2 separate regions of the Homo sapiens genome follow, and region 1 is linked to region 2. Evidence: promoter capture Hi-C in 16 types of primary human blood cells and fetal thymus (Javierre and others, 2016). All regions are on one chromosome and are shown on one strand. Each heading gives the region's core, a stretch centred on a gene start or on the middle of the fragment in contact. The rest is flanking DNA. Distances are from core to core; before and after follow the strand shown.

Evidence for each region. The method cuts DNA at HindIII sites, captures the fragments that hold promoters and counts their contacts. A CHiCAGO score of 5 or more calls a contact.
Region 1: the fragment with the promoter of SNX19 here is called in contact with the fragment with the promoter of EI24 in region 2 in 1 of 17 cell types (total CD4 T cells); the score reaches 5.3 in total CD4 T cells.

The regions. Positions count from the first base shown.
Region 1 is chr11:130,914,503-130,921,006 of GRCh38, forward strand. It overlaps SNX19 (sorting nexin 19), which reads right to left and starts at 1,977. Exons shown (of 11, transcript NM_014758.3): 1 at 1-1,977. The coding sequence starts at 1,437. RefSeq lists an enhancer at 1,720-1,769 and a silencer at 1,890-2,169. The HindIII fragment of the contact is 12,734 bases long and covers 1-6,504 here.
Region 2 is chr11:125,566,320-125,573,476 of GRCh38, forward strand. It overlaps EI24 (EI24 autophagy associated transmembrane protein), which reads left to right and starts at 3,158. Exons shown (of 11, transcript NM_004879.5): 1 at 3,158-3,254; 2 at 6,139-6,250. The coding sequence starts at 6,209. It overlaps STT3A-AS1 (STT3A antisense RNA 1), which reads right to left. Exons shown (of 4, transcript NR_132372.1): 2 at 7,137-7,157; 3 at 3,971-4,123; 4 at 1,789-1,799. RefSeq lists enhancers at 2,822-3,323, 3,826-3,875 and a silencer at 2,826-3,385. The HindIII fragment of the contact is 1,677 bases long and covers 2,166-3,842 here.

The sequences.
Region 1 (6,504 bases), core at 727-3,226, 5.3 Mb after region 2:
CCGTGAGGGGCAGGTCTTTTCTGGCCCCTCCAGCAAAGCTGTAACAGAGGCGGTAACATCTCCTTGTTCTATCTCCTTGTCTGCTGTGTCAATATGGATCTCTGGGCAGGAATTCAGTGTGGAGACCGGCAGGCCTGTCTCTGTTTCTGTCCCTGGACCCTCCTCAGCCTCTGCTCCTTCAGATGCCTCACCATCTTTGGGTTCCAGAGCCTGGGAACTCTCTAGGGCACACAGGGCATCCTGAATCCTGTCAGAGAGAAAGCTGCCTGGAGTCATGAGCATGATGGTTTCTTTGCCCAGTTCAGACAGCGGAGACTCCAGCTCTGAGTCTTCACATAAGAACAGGGGACCTCGAACATTTGGCTGTAGGAAATGAGATGAGTTGTTTCCTACTTTTCTTTCTTCACACATCCCACCCAAATCTCCCTCTACAGCTTCGTGGCCTTCTTCAACCTCTGGAGAGGGGCCTGCAGAACCCTCTGGCTCACTGTAACTTAGGAATACTGGGGCTGCTACTGGAGAAGCTCTCCCTTCTGGAAGCTGCTCTACCTCAGCAATCAGTGGCAGAGATGTCGGCACTGAGGGCTGTTCGGGGGCACTGGCTGGGCAGGGTGCTGGATCTCTGGCCTTGGAAAAGATACCCACGAGTACAAGGTGGATCCAGTCAGGATCTGACAGCCTGCTGATCAGTGGTAAGATTACATTGCATGTGATGAGTTCGACCACTACATGGCGTCCGGTACGAGTCTCCAAGTGGGGCTTGGGCACCAGCCCTTGAAGCAACAAATTCACAACGCCACGCGTATAGGTGACTTCAGCACTGGGGCTGTGCACAGCAGGATGTGGGGCAGTCGCCCGGCAGTAAGCCTCCCAGAGGTGGGAAGGCTCAACTGGACCATTCTTCCCTGCAGTGGCCTCCTTTGCCTGAATGTAGCTCTGCAGGTGACAACCGCAGAGAGTCAGAACACTCTGGGCAACAGCATGACTGTCCATCACGCTCATCCTTCTCCGAAGCTCCTGGACCAACCCTTTCATGGCTGCCTCCATTTCTTCCTCAAAGGCTGGCTCCTGGCTCACGGAACGGTACCAAGATAACACAAAATCTCGAATAATCATCTGGATGGTGCGGTTGATCTCCCGTTCCAGCTGCCTTTCTGCCTCAGGGCATGGAGGACAGGTGGCCAACGGGATGAAGCGTTCCAGATGCAGTCGACCTGAAGCCACTCCAGCGAGGCTGGAGCCCAGCCATCCTCCCAGCACCACTAGCAATGCCGACAGAAGGCACAGCAGCCACACGTTGACCAGAAGGTGTATGACCAGGAGCCAGCCAAGCAAGACCCCCACAGCCATCAGCTTCCGGCTACTCAACAGGTTATTGAGGTGACAGCTCGATCCAGCTGGAGTTTCCTGGAACGGTGGCACTGTTTCTGTCTTCATGGCTGAACGGACAAGGTGGCTTCCCCAGATGACAGCCCTCAAGATTTTACTTCAGAGTTAGGGAAGGGGGGCATGAACTGTGTCTCAGATATGGGGCGATCTGGGTGCTGTTCAGGGAACCGGGGCTCCAGGCCCTCAAAGTCCTACAGGCACTGCAAAGCGACAGCTGCAGCTCCGCGTCTCCCCATGGCTACCACTAACAGAGCCCTCCAACTCGCCCCTTCCAGCTGAGGTGTGGCTTTGGAGGAAAACTCTGTGGCCTTCACACTGCCCCAGGCGGAAGGCCTCTTCGGGGCCTCGGGGCGGGCGCTGCAAGGCCCTGGGGCCCACGGACACTTACACACGCAGCGGGCAGCGGCCGGCGAAGACTGGGTCACACGCCGCCGGGAACCGCGCGCCCACACTCAGCCCCGACCTGAAGTGGACTCATCGCGGTCCTCTCCGGGAGCCTCGGCCCTCTGCCGCCGTAAACCTGGGCGACTGCGCTCCGCAGCCGGGCCTGTGTGAAGGCTGACCGCCGGCCGGCCGCCGGCGACAGCTTCCGGGTCGACGTCGACGGGAGCGAGGCATGCTGGGAGAGCGTCCGCGCGCGCCCCGAGGAGCGGCGCTGCCCGGCGCCCTCTGCTGGCGAGGAGCCGCCCTGACGGCCCTGCGCGAGGTAGTCTCTGAGCCTGAGCGTGAGCCTGAGCGCGCACGGGGCGCGTGCTCGCCAAGAGCTGGCGCAGATTTCCGAAGTGCCACGAAACAGCCGCCGCAGCAATCACCGCTAAGACCCAGACTTCCAGGCGCTTTAAAACGCGTCCTAGTTCTGGTTATTAAATGAAGCCTGTCCTTTACTGCTTAGGCACGCTGTCAATAATCCGGTTTATTTTAATTTCATGGAGGCGAAGTTTCATTGGCCTGATGTGTCTTAACATTTATCCGGTTTCCCCTAGAGCCGGTACCCCGCGTCCCCAGCACAAAGACCCTCATTTGTTGTCAGGAATTGCAGAATATAAGGCATGAAACGATACAGAGATAGATTTATGTTGTACATTTCATATACTGTATCACAAAATCAAATTTGTGATTGAGGGTTATTTGCTGGTGGCATTACACAAACAATCAAATATTTTGAGCATCTGCTGTCTTCAATGTGAGAGGCAGCGTGGACGAATAGAAGCAGACCTTGTCCTCCAGGACCTCCTGCTAACTGGGGATGCCAGCGCTTTGAACGCGATTGGCTATCTAGTAATGCCAGTCAGCGTGCGATATAGTAAAATACAAAATCTTATAGGAATTCAGGGGAAGGAGAGATCACTGTGGGTTGCAATGGTTAAGGAGAAGCTCACAGAAAAGGTGCCTTTCTGCTGAGTCTTCAAGGATGAGGGTTTCTATTTCCCTCTATCTCTTCTCGCCTTATCCTCCCCAAAAACATAGAAAAGGAAAGCAGAGATAGAGGTGTCCTTTCAGATAATCCTGTAATATATTTGCTTTGGAATATGCTCTATGTTGGATTGTTTTTGGTTTTAGCAAATTAGACTTCACTTGTCTACACAGGAACCTATAGGAAGACAAAATACCGGAAGCACTGACCAGGTGTCAAAAGTGTTAGTGTCAGTTTTGCGTGAAGCCAGCTTCCATGTCCACCTTGGGCCCTAGGAGCTGTGCCCGCAGGGTGGGTCTCCTTTCCATTTAGGCATAGGATTCGCATCGTTTGCACAGAGCTGCTCATGGTTGCCCTTCGTCCACCTTCTCTGTGCTGTGAGCAGTCTTTCATCATCATGGACTACTCCCTAGATGTTTAAAGGAATCTTCAAACAAATCCCAACCCAAAACTCTGCCAACAAGAAGTGCGTTGCAGCTTCCTGTCTCGTCCATTGCTGCTGTTGGGGCAGAGACTTCCTTTGAATACGAAAGAAGCCATCATTTAGATGTGACCCGTAGTTTACGATTCATCACTTCTAAAGCAAATGGTTTGATTTAGGATCAGTGTCCACTAAGCAGACTGGGCACTCCCGTGAGATGGCAGAATGTGAATCCACGGTTTCACGGTCCATACCTTTTCACTGCTGCCTGCCTTCCCGCAGAAAAGGAACCCGAGAAGTGGGCTCTGCCCCTCTACCTTCCCAGACCATTCTAATGTCCTCAGGAGCACTTAGAAAATGGCAACAATGCTCTGGAGAAAAGTCCCTGCCACCTAGTTGGGAGCTAAAACAGAAATGTGAATGATGAAGGGACTACCGACGGTGCTGAAGACTTCCTGTGGCAGTTCAAAGAGAAAGTTTACTTGGCAGCATAATCTGGAGTGTTCAGGGCAGTAAGGAAGTGACCTTGCAAGTGGGCGCTATGCCACCTGACCAGATGGTCTGGAGCATCAAGGTAGCCAAGAGTGCCTTCCTGATTCTGAAGCGGGTTTGATGGACATGCCCGTGCACTTGTCATTTGGACGGGTGTGAGCTCCTGCCTGGGGGTCTGGGCAGACCCTGGTCTCCAAACAGATTAATCACTGGGAGGAGGTGAGAGTCAGGACTGATGTGCCCTGGTGTGTGTATGTGGGGTGGGGAGACTTGGCCACACCACTCACCATCTGGAGACGTCCTTCCTTCTTTCCTTTTCCCTATTTCTCAAAACATTAAAGGCATAGTGCTAGAGTGTTGGAGAAAACAAGACAAATAAGATACAATAATTCTCCTCAAGGGACTCTCAGTCTAGTTAAAGGAGAGACACATAAATATATAAACGTAATGAAACATGATCACGTGTGTAATGTGATGTGTTCTGATGTGTTGTAATAGAAGTGCATACAATAAAATCGAAACACAAAGCGGGTGGTCAGCTGTGGAGGGGGGTGGCTCATAGACAGTTTTCCCTTAAGTTGGGAAATGAAAAAGAATTGAGTGTATTTTAGGAAATGTTGGGTAGCGAGAGCAAGGGGCAAACAGAAGGAAGGTCTTTCAGGCAGAGGCCTGCTCATAAGAAACAGGCAGAGACCATGAGAGCAGGGGGGCCCGTGACATAGGCCCTGCCAGAGCCAGCCCGCACCCCACTTGAATTTTCTCTCAAAATAGAAGACCAGGAGGCTTCCTAAAGAGAAGCTCAGTGATGGGGCAAGTGAGTGAGAAGAGGCGATGGTATGGAATTATTGCTGTGGGATATAGAAAGGGAGCTATCGAAGGTCAGGTAAAAAGATGAAGTGGGGGCTGGGCGCAGTGGCTCATGCCTGTAATCCTAGCACTTTGGGAAGCTGAGGCAGGCAGATCACGAGATCAGGAGTTCAAGACCAGTATGGCTAACATAGTGAAACCCCGTCTTTACTAAAAATACAAAAAAATTAGCCAGGTGTGATGGTGTGCTCCTGTAATCCCAGCTACTCGGAGGGCTGAGGCAGGAGAATCGCGTGAATCCAGGAGGTGGAGATTGCAGTGATCCGAGATTGTGCCATTGCACTCCAGTAGCCCGGGCAACAGTGCGAGACTCCGTCTAAAAAAAAAAAAAAAGAGAGAAGGTGGGGCTGAGGGACCTTTTTGTAGTGGCACCAATACATATGGTTGAGTTATTTTCTCTGGAGGTGTTTAGTATTGTATTAGTCCATTTTCATGCTGCTGATAAAGACACACCGGAGCCTGGGCAATTTACAAAAGAAAGAGGCTTAATTGGACTTGCAGTTCCACATGGCTGGAGAAGACTCACAATTATGGCAGAAGGCAAGGAGGAGCAAGTCACATCTTCCGTGAATGGCAGCAGGCAAAAAGAGAAATGAACTTGTGTGGGAGAACTCTTCTTTATAAAACCATCAGTCTCATGAGACTTCTTCACTATCATGAGAACAATGGGAAAGACTTGCCCCCATGATTGAATTATCCCCTACCGGGTTCCTCCCATGACACATTGGAATTGTGGGAGTTACAATTCACGATGAGATTTGGGTGGAGACACAGAACCAAACCATATCATTCCACCCCTGGCCCCTCCCAAATTTCATATCCTCACATTTCAAAACCAATCATTCCTTCCCAACAGTCCCTCAAAGTCTTAACTCATTTCAGCATTATCTCAGAATTCCACAGTCCAAAGTCTCATCCAAGACAAGGCAAGTCCCTTCTGCCCATGAGCTTCCAAAATCGAAAGCAAGTTAGTTACTTCCTAGATACTATGGGGGTACAGGTATTGGGTAAATACAGCCATTTCAAATGGGATAAATGGCCAAAACAAAGGGGCTGCAGGCCCCATGAAAGTCCGAAATCCAGTGGGGCAGTCAAATCTTAACACTCCAAAATTGATTCAAAAAGTGGGTTCCCATGGTCTTGGGCAGCTCCACTCCTGTGGCTTTGCAGGGTAGAGCCTCTCTCCCAGCTACTTTCACGAGCTGGCATTGAGTGTCTGGCTTTTCAAGGTGAATGGTGCAAGCTGTTGGTCAATCTATCATTCTGCAGTCTGGAGGACAGTGGCCCTCCTCTCACAGATCCACTAGGTGGTGCCCAAGTAGGGACTCTGTGTGGGGGCTTTCACCCCACATTTCCCTTCCTCACTGACCAGCAGAGGTTCTTCATGAGGGCCAAGCTGCTGAAGCAAACTTCTGCCCGGGCATCTAGGCATTTCCATACATCCTTTGAAATCTAGATGGAGTTTTCCAAACCATAGTTCTTGACTTTTGTGCACCCACAGGCTCAACATCATGTGGAAGCTGCCAAGCCTTGAGGCTTGCACCCTCTGAAGCCACAGCCTAAACTCTACGTTGGGCCCTTTCAGCCATGGCTGGAGCAGCTGGGATGCAGGGCACCAAGTCCCTAGACTACACACAGCACCAGGACCCTGGACCCGGCCTATGAAACTCTATTTTCCTTCTAGACCTCTAGGCCTGTGATGGGATGGGCTGCCGCAAAGAAAGATCTCTGACATGCCCTGGAGACATTTTCCACATTGTCTTGGGGATTAACATTCAGCTGCTCGTTTCTTATGCAAATTTCTGCAGCGGGCTTGAATTTCTCCTCAGAAAATGGGATTTTCTTTTCTATTGCATTGTCAGGCTGCACATCTTCCAAACTTTTATGCTATGCTTCCCTTATAAAACTGAATGCTTTTAAC
Region 2 (7,157 bases), core at 1,908-4,407:
GCCTGTGGCCAGACCAGGCATGTTGCCTCAAGAGGAACACTGCAGTGCCCAGGTGAAAGTGCCCATGACCCTGAAGCCTCAGAGCGGGTGTTACAGTGCTCCTTTAGTTTCATCATCCACAAACAGCAGTGTGTTAGTAGCTCAGTTGGCCCTTTGCCTTGTCACGTGGGGCAGCTGCCTTCCACTGGTGGGGGCAAAGGACCAGTGTGACAGCCTTTCTGGGTACCTGTACTTGGTGGGTCCCAAGCTCTTGTCCAGTGTCCAAGAAGAATGAGGTCACATGCAGGATTGAAGGATGGCGGGCCAGGTGCGGTGGCTCACGCCAGTAATCTCAACACTTTGAGAGCCTGAGGTGGGTGGATCACCTGAGGTCAGGAGTTTGAGATCAGCCTGGCCAACATGGTGAAACCCCATCTCTACTAAAAATACAAAAACTTAGCTGGGCGTGGTGGCAGGTGCCTATAATCCCAGCTACTTAGGAGGCTGAGGCAGGAGAATTGCTTGAACCCAGGAGGCATAGGTTGCAGTGAGCTGAGATTGCACCATTGCACTCCAGCCTGGGTGACAGAGCAAGACTCTGTCTCAAAAAAAAAAACAAAGAAAAAAACAAAGAAGGATGTTGAGGGCAGAGAATTTTTTTTAGTGATGAAAACGAGTCTCAGCAGTGAGGGGAGCTGGAGAAGGGACAGGAAGGGCAGGTCGTCTTCCTCAAAGTCAGGCGGTCTCCCACTCTACTGACTAAGTCAGGGGTCCTTATAGGCACAGGATGGGGAGTATGTGCAGATTGGTTTGTGGCTATGCAAGAAAGGTTAAAGCAAAGGCACCACTCAAAGGTGGGCACAACAGTGTAGAAAACCAATCAGGAAAGGGTAGGTATATGTAAAATAGGTGAAGGGTGGGGATCAATCAGAGGAAAACATGCAAGACAGGAAGACAAGTTCTCAATCTGGTCTGAGGACTTAACTTGTAGCTTGGCTTTCGAGCTTTAAACTGTTTTTGGCTTGGAGGTGGGGTTTCAATGGGGACCCGCCACTAACTGCCTAGGCATTTGGCTGTCTCCTGTCGCTATCACTAGATCTAGTATTGTTATCATTTCACTAAATCATATATCCATACAGTTAAAAAACACCTTCATATATATACCATTTATTTCAGCAGCCTGTGTTAAAGAAACTAAGGTTTGGGCCAGGCGTGCTGGCTCACACCTGTAATCCCAGCACTTTGGGAGGCCAAGGCGGGTGGATCACGAGGTCAGAAGATCGAGACCATCCTGGCTAACATGGTGAAACCCCGTCTCTACTAAAAATACAAAAAATTAGCCGGGCGTGGTGGCGGGCACCTGTAGTCCCAGCTACTTGGGAGGCTGAGACAGGAGAATGGTGTGAACCCGGGAGGTGGAGCTTGCAGTGAGCCAAGATAGAGAGACACTGTCTCAAAAAAAAAAAAAAAAAAAAAAAGAAACTAAGGTTCACAGCTTAACTGGAGGTCATGTCTTCTCAAAGTGCTCTGCCACAAACTTCCTCATTTGTGAAATTTGGAAAATAATATCCTCTACTTGTCCACAAATAGCATCTAATCATACATAAGCATGTGAGAGCTCTTTAAAAATGCAAGGTATTAATTATTATTGGTTTTTATTTTAAATGTGGTTATACATGTTGAGATTTAAAAGATTTCCTCCCGGCCAGGCGCAGTGGCTCACGCCTGTAATCCCAGCACTTTGGGAGGCTGTAGGTGGGCGGACCACGAGGTCAGGAGATCGAGACCATCCTGGCTAACACGGTGAAACCCCGTCTCTACTAAAAATACAAAAAAATTAGCCATGCTTGGTGGCAGGTGCCTGTAGTCCCAGCTACTCAGGAGGCTGAGGCAGGAGAATGGCGTGAACCCAGGGGGCGGAGCTTGCAGTGAGCCGAGATCGCACCACTGCACTCCAGCCTGGGAGACAAAGACAGACTCAGTCTCAAAAAAAAAAAAAAAAAAAGATTTCCTCCCATGAAGTAAGCCAGAATAAACTCATACCTACTAAATTCTTTCTAAAATCTTTTCTAAATTGACACTCTTGAGAAAGAATAGAGCTTGGAGGAAGAGCTATTATTATAATTAATAGCACAATAATCAGTTTGTCATTAAACCACTTAGGTCTCTTTGTAACAAGATTTCTAAGCTTTAGTAGATGGATTCCTTATTCTATTCTATTTTATATTGTTTTGTTTTGTTTTATTTTATTTTATTTTTCGAGACAGTCTAGCTGTGTCACCCAGGCTGAAGTGCAGTAGTGCGATCTCGGCTCACCGCAACCTCTGCCTCCTGAATTGAAGTGATTCTCATTCCTTAGCCGACCAAGTAGCTGGGACCACAGGTGTGTGCCACCATGCCCAGCTAATTTTTTGTATTTTTAGTAGAGACGGGATTTCACCATCTTGGCCAGGGTGGCCTCAAGTGATCTGCCCGCCTCAGCTTCCCAAAGTGCTGAGGTTACACGCATGAGCCACCGTGCCCAGCCACTTATTTTATTTCATTTTTTAAATTTATTATTATTATTATTATTTTGAGACTGAGTCTTGCTCAGTCGCCCAGGCAGGAGTGCAGTGGTGTGATCTCGGCTCACTGCAACCTTCATCCCCTGAGTTCAAGTAATTCTCCTGCCTCAGCCTCCTGAGTAGCTGGGACCACAGGCAGGTACCACCACACCTGGCTAATTTTTGTTATTTTAGTAGAGATGGGGTTTCGCTATGTTGGCCAGGCTGGTCTTGAACTCCTGACCTCGTGATCTGCCTGCCTTGGCCTCCCAAAATGCTGGGATTAAAGGCATCCTGTTACTAATTTCACAGGATTTTAGAAACGCAAGCAGCGTTGTGGAGTCAATGGGGGAGGGCAAAGAACAGGAGGAGAGATCTGTGAGAACGGGATCGGCGAGGAGGCGACGGGGAGGAGGCGACGCGGAGGGGTGAGGGGTCCTCTCCGCCGCCAGGCGGAGTTGGGAGCCGGACGATCCCGCACGCAGCGCGAGGCGGGACCCCGGACTGACTACATTTCCCAGTCTCCGTCGCTCCGCGCGGCCCACCCCTTCGGCTCTGGGCCCCGCCTCGTGGTGCCGGCTGGTTCTTCGCGCTCGCCCGACTTCCCAGCGGCCCCGTGCGGCCCGGGCATGCCCAGTGCGGGCGCAGCGGCCCCGGCCCTGGAAGCGCCCCGGCGGAGCTGGCCTGCGGTGGGCTAGGGGCAGGGCCGGAGCCGCGGCGGCGGAGCTGTGGGTAGGTGCGGGCTCAGCCGAGCTAGGCCTCGGGGCCGCCGCGCCGCCCATTCTGAGTGGCAGGGACCGGGAGGGCAGGCAGGGCCCGAGCGTGGGTTGGTGGGGCTACCGGCGAGGACCCCTTATGGGAAGGGGCCGGAGGGAGCGGGACGGGGCCGGGCACATCCCCGGGCGAGGCTGCCCCAGGTGCGGCGCAGCTATCTTTAGCTCCCTGTGTGACCCGGAGCGTGCGTGATCCGCACCTCGCGTGATCCGTACCTCGTGCACAGTTGTGCCTAGGGAGACCAGTTTTCTGCCGAATTGCCTAGGAGCTGTGGGGAGATGGGCCTGAATGGACCCGTGGACTCAGAGGCAGCCCGTGGAGCCCCGTGGGAAGTGAGGATGTTTACCTTCCCTGTACCTGGAGTGGGCTACGACAGCTTCCTGTTTGCCGAGACTTGGGTTTAGTGACTTAGAAATAAAAGTGTGTCTCAGCAGATGCTTATTAGCTTCTAATGACTGTTGGGAATTTAATGGCATTTGTATTTCCAGGTTTGAGAGGTTATTTGTCCATGGGATGCTCGTGTTAAAACAAAAATCTTCATTGCAAAGCTTAAGTAAAAACAAGTCTCGACCGAGGTAACGTTAGAACACCGGGTTCTGAGGTTCACTGTAGCTGCCATTCATTTGCTGTCAGTCTGGGCAAGTCATTTAACTTCTGAGACTGGGTTCTCTCACCTGTTAAATGAGCCAGATGCATCTTCATCTGTCTAGCTCAGCTGTAGGATTCCCCCTGTGTCATTCAGTCTGTGTGTGTGTTCTCAAATTGTGGCAGGTTATTTTTCCCCATGCCTCAGCTATTTGTCAGACTGGGTAATTCACCAAATATTCCTGTAGGAAGGATGTTAGGATCTAAGTATAAAAGTGAAGTGATTTATCCTTCATAGGTCACTCTTAGGAGGTGTCCTGCCACTTGGTACATGCAGAAACCAGGTGTTAGCTGGCCAGGGATCAAATGACACAGCTGTTGTGGACTGAGACAGAATGTTTCAGGTTCCCTGTCAGTTCCCTGTGAGAAATCCAGGCCAAGTAATGGGCTTCCTTAAACCTCCAAGCTGGCTCACTTTGGTGGGGTTGTGTTTATATAGAATTTTAAGTTTTTTTCATGCTGTTGTGCCCTATTAGATGCAAGAAACCTATGAAGAAGTTTAGTACCCTTAATTTATAGATGAGCCAGTGGCAGGTTACGGGAGTGGATCTGTGAGTCTTTACAAACTAGTGTCGTGCATATCACTGAGCCTTTGCTAGTTATCTAGCTCAGCTGCCCTCACCTCAACCCTGAGAACATGTCTGTATGGCTGTACCTACGCGACTGGAACTCTGAGGTGTTTGTTTTCAGGAGGAAACAGTGGGAGTATTAACAGAAGTTTCTTACCCTAGAGACTTCTATCCGAAGTGAGCCTATCTGTGTAGGATTTGACCTAAGGAGCAGAGGGTATATACAATGTTGGGCAAATTGCCTTCCTACTGCCATATCCCCTGCTCTTCCAGTTCTGAATGGCATTAGTCCAGTTGGGTCAATGAGGAGCAGTTTGGTGAAGTGGTTAAAGGTCGGGGAAAGTGTGCTTATATTTTGAAATTTAAGGTTTGTACAAGCTGCTTGTGAAATTCTGTCTTTGTATTATGGTCATACCTCTTAAACTGAGAATACTGCAACTTGATTGAGTGAGTGTTGAGAACTTTAGAATATCAGGTTCTTAAAAAATGCCTGAAAGTGGGTTTTCTATTCATCTTAGAAGTCACCACAGATTAAATGAGAGAATAGTATATTAATTACAAGTATTTCTCACATGAACTCTCAAGTTCTTAATTTTTGAAACTAGATATCCCATTCACCTGAGAAATAAAATGGGAAAGCCTTACTGTTTTAAAGACTGTTTATACATATGAACTTTTTTGAGGCCTAGTTTAAAATCCACTATTTATTGCATGTTTATTAAAATTGTATCTGTATATATTTAAAGTTAGAAAACAGAAAAGACCAGCCGGGCGTGGTGGCTCATGCCTGTAATCCTAGCACTTTGGGAGGCTGAGATGGATGGATCACCTGAGATCAGGAGTTTGAGATCAGCCTGGCCAACATGGCGAAACCCCATCTCTACTAAAAATACACAAAATTAGCTGGGCGTGGTGGCGGGTTCCTGTAATCTCAGCTACTCGGGAGGCTGAGGCAAGAGAATCACTTGAACCTGGGAGGTGGAGGTTGCAGTGAGCCGAGCCCAGTGTTGCACTCCAGCCTGGGCAACAAGAGCGAGACTCTGTCTCAAAAAATAAAATAAAATAAAAAAGACCTATTTGGAGGTTTTGGTACGCAATTTCATGTCATACCTTAAACTTTACTGTGCCCGAGGGCTCTGTATGACTGAAGCATGTATTTAGTAATTTTTGTAAGAACTTTTATCTTGCTCTTGTATTTTCATTCAAGTATTTGAAGGTATCCAGCAAACATAAAAATTGCTTAAGAAGATATTGAAATGTAATTATCTTCCATCTCCAAACCCTCAAAAGTGCTTAGAATGTGTAGGAGGGATAGTTAGGGGCATTGAGGCTCAGAGGAGGTTACTGGTCAAGAGCACATTGTAAAAATGTAAAATGTAAAAATGAGAGGGTGTAAAATGTAAAACCCCTTGTAAAAATGAAAGGGTGGTGAGTGTTTTAGAAAAAAAATAGGGATTTTAGGTTTCAGCTGTACAGGAATAGCTTCACTTGATTCACTCTATTAGTGCTAGAATCTACTGCTATCTTACTAGAGCTACAAGTATGTGAGGTCATCATGTGGAAATGTGCATGAAGTAACTTATCTTTAAAATAAATATTTGCCTCCATTATGTTCCATCTGTTTCCAGATCCTTCATGATGAGAGATTTGGGGACACTTCTCTCTCCTGTGTGTAGTTGATAGTTTGGTGGTGAAGAGATGGCTGACAGTGTCAAAACCTTTCTCCAGGACCTTGCCAGAGTGAGTACATCTTGTTTATAGGAATTCATCTCTCGGCCTTTTTTTTTTTTGCTGAAGGAACCATCTAGGAAATCCTTTAGGGTTTTTGGAACTTTTATCATATTTCTTGGGTTCTTTACATAAAGGTTGTTATTCTAGACCACACTACTCAAGAAATAGGTATTGTTCTACATCTTGCAGACAGTCTTGCAGGTGCTTGGAAGACCTCTTCGGTGGATGTCTCCAGTATTGGGACCCTAATCATCTTGGCTTCAGAGCTTTTTTTTTTTTTTTTTTTAACTTTTTATTTTGGAATGTGTTTAGATTTACAGAAAAGTTATAAGGTAGTACAGAGAGTTCCTGTATGTCCTTCATCAGCTTCCCTTAATGTTAACATATAACCGTGGTATATTTGTCAACTAAGAAATGAACATTGGTTCAGTACTATCACCTAAACTAATTAATTCAGATTTAAATTAGAGAACCTATCTTTTTTTTTTCCCAATTTTTCATTTATTTAAAAATTTTTCTGTTAAAAGTAGAGACGAAGTTTTGGCATGTTGCCCAGGCTGGTCTCAAACTCCTGGGCTCAAGTGATCCACCCGCCTTGTCCTCCCAAAGTGCCGGGATTATAGGAGTGAGCCACTGCACCTGCCAGAACCTTTTTTCTCCCCATTCTACAAGCTGTGCACGTGAGGAGGATACTCTAGGAAAATGCCCTATAAAGATCTGGTTAGGACCCAGTCATCCAAATTACCAATAGCACAAAAGTCTGCTACTTTTAATGTATGTCTGAAGCCTAATAATGTCTCACTTGTAACCCCCTCTTATATTTCCACTAGCATGAAAGAGGCCAATTCTTGGAGTGGGGAGGTTCTTTCTTTAGTGGAAGAGTTTAAAAGGTTACCTTTATGGCCAGGGGAGGTGG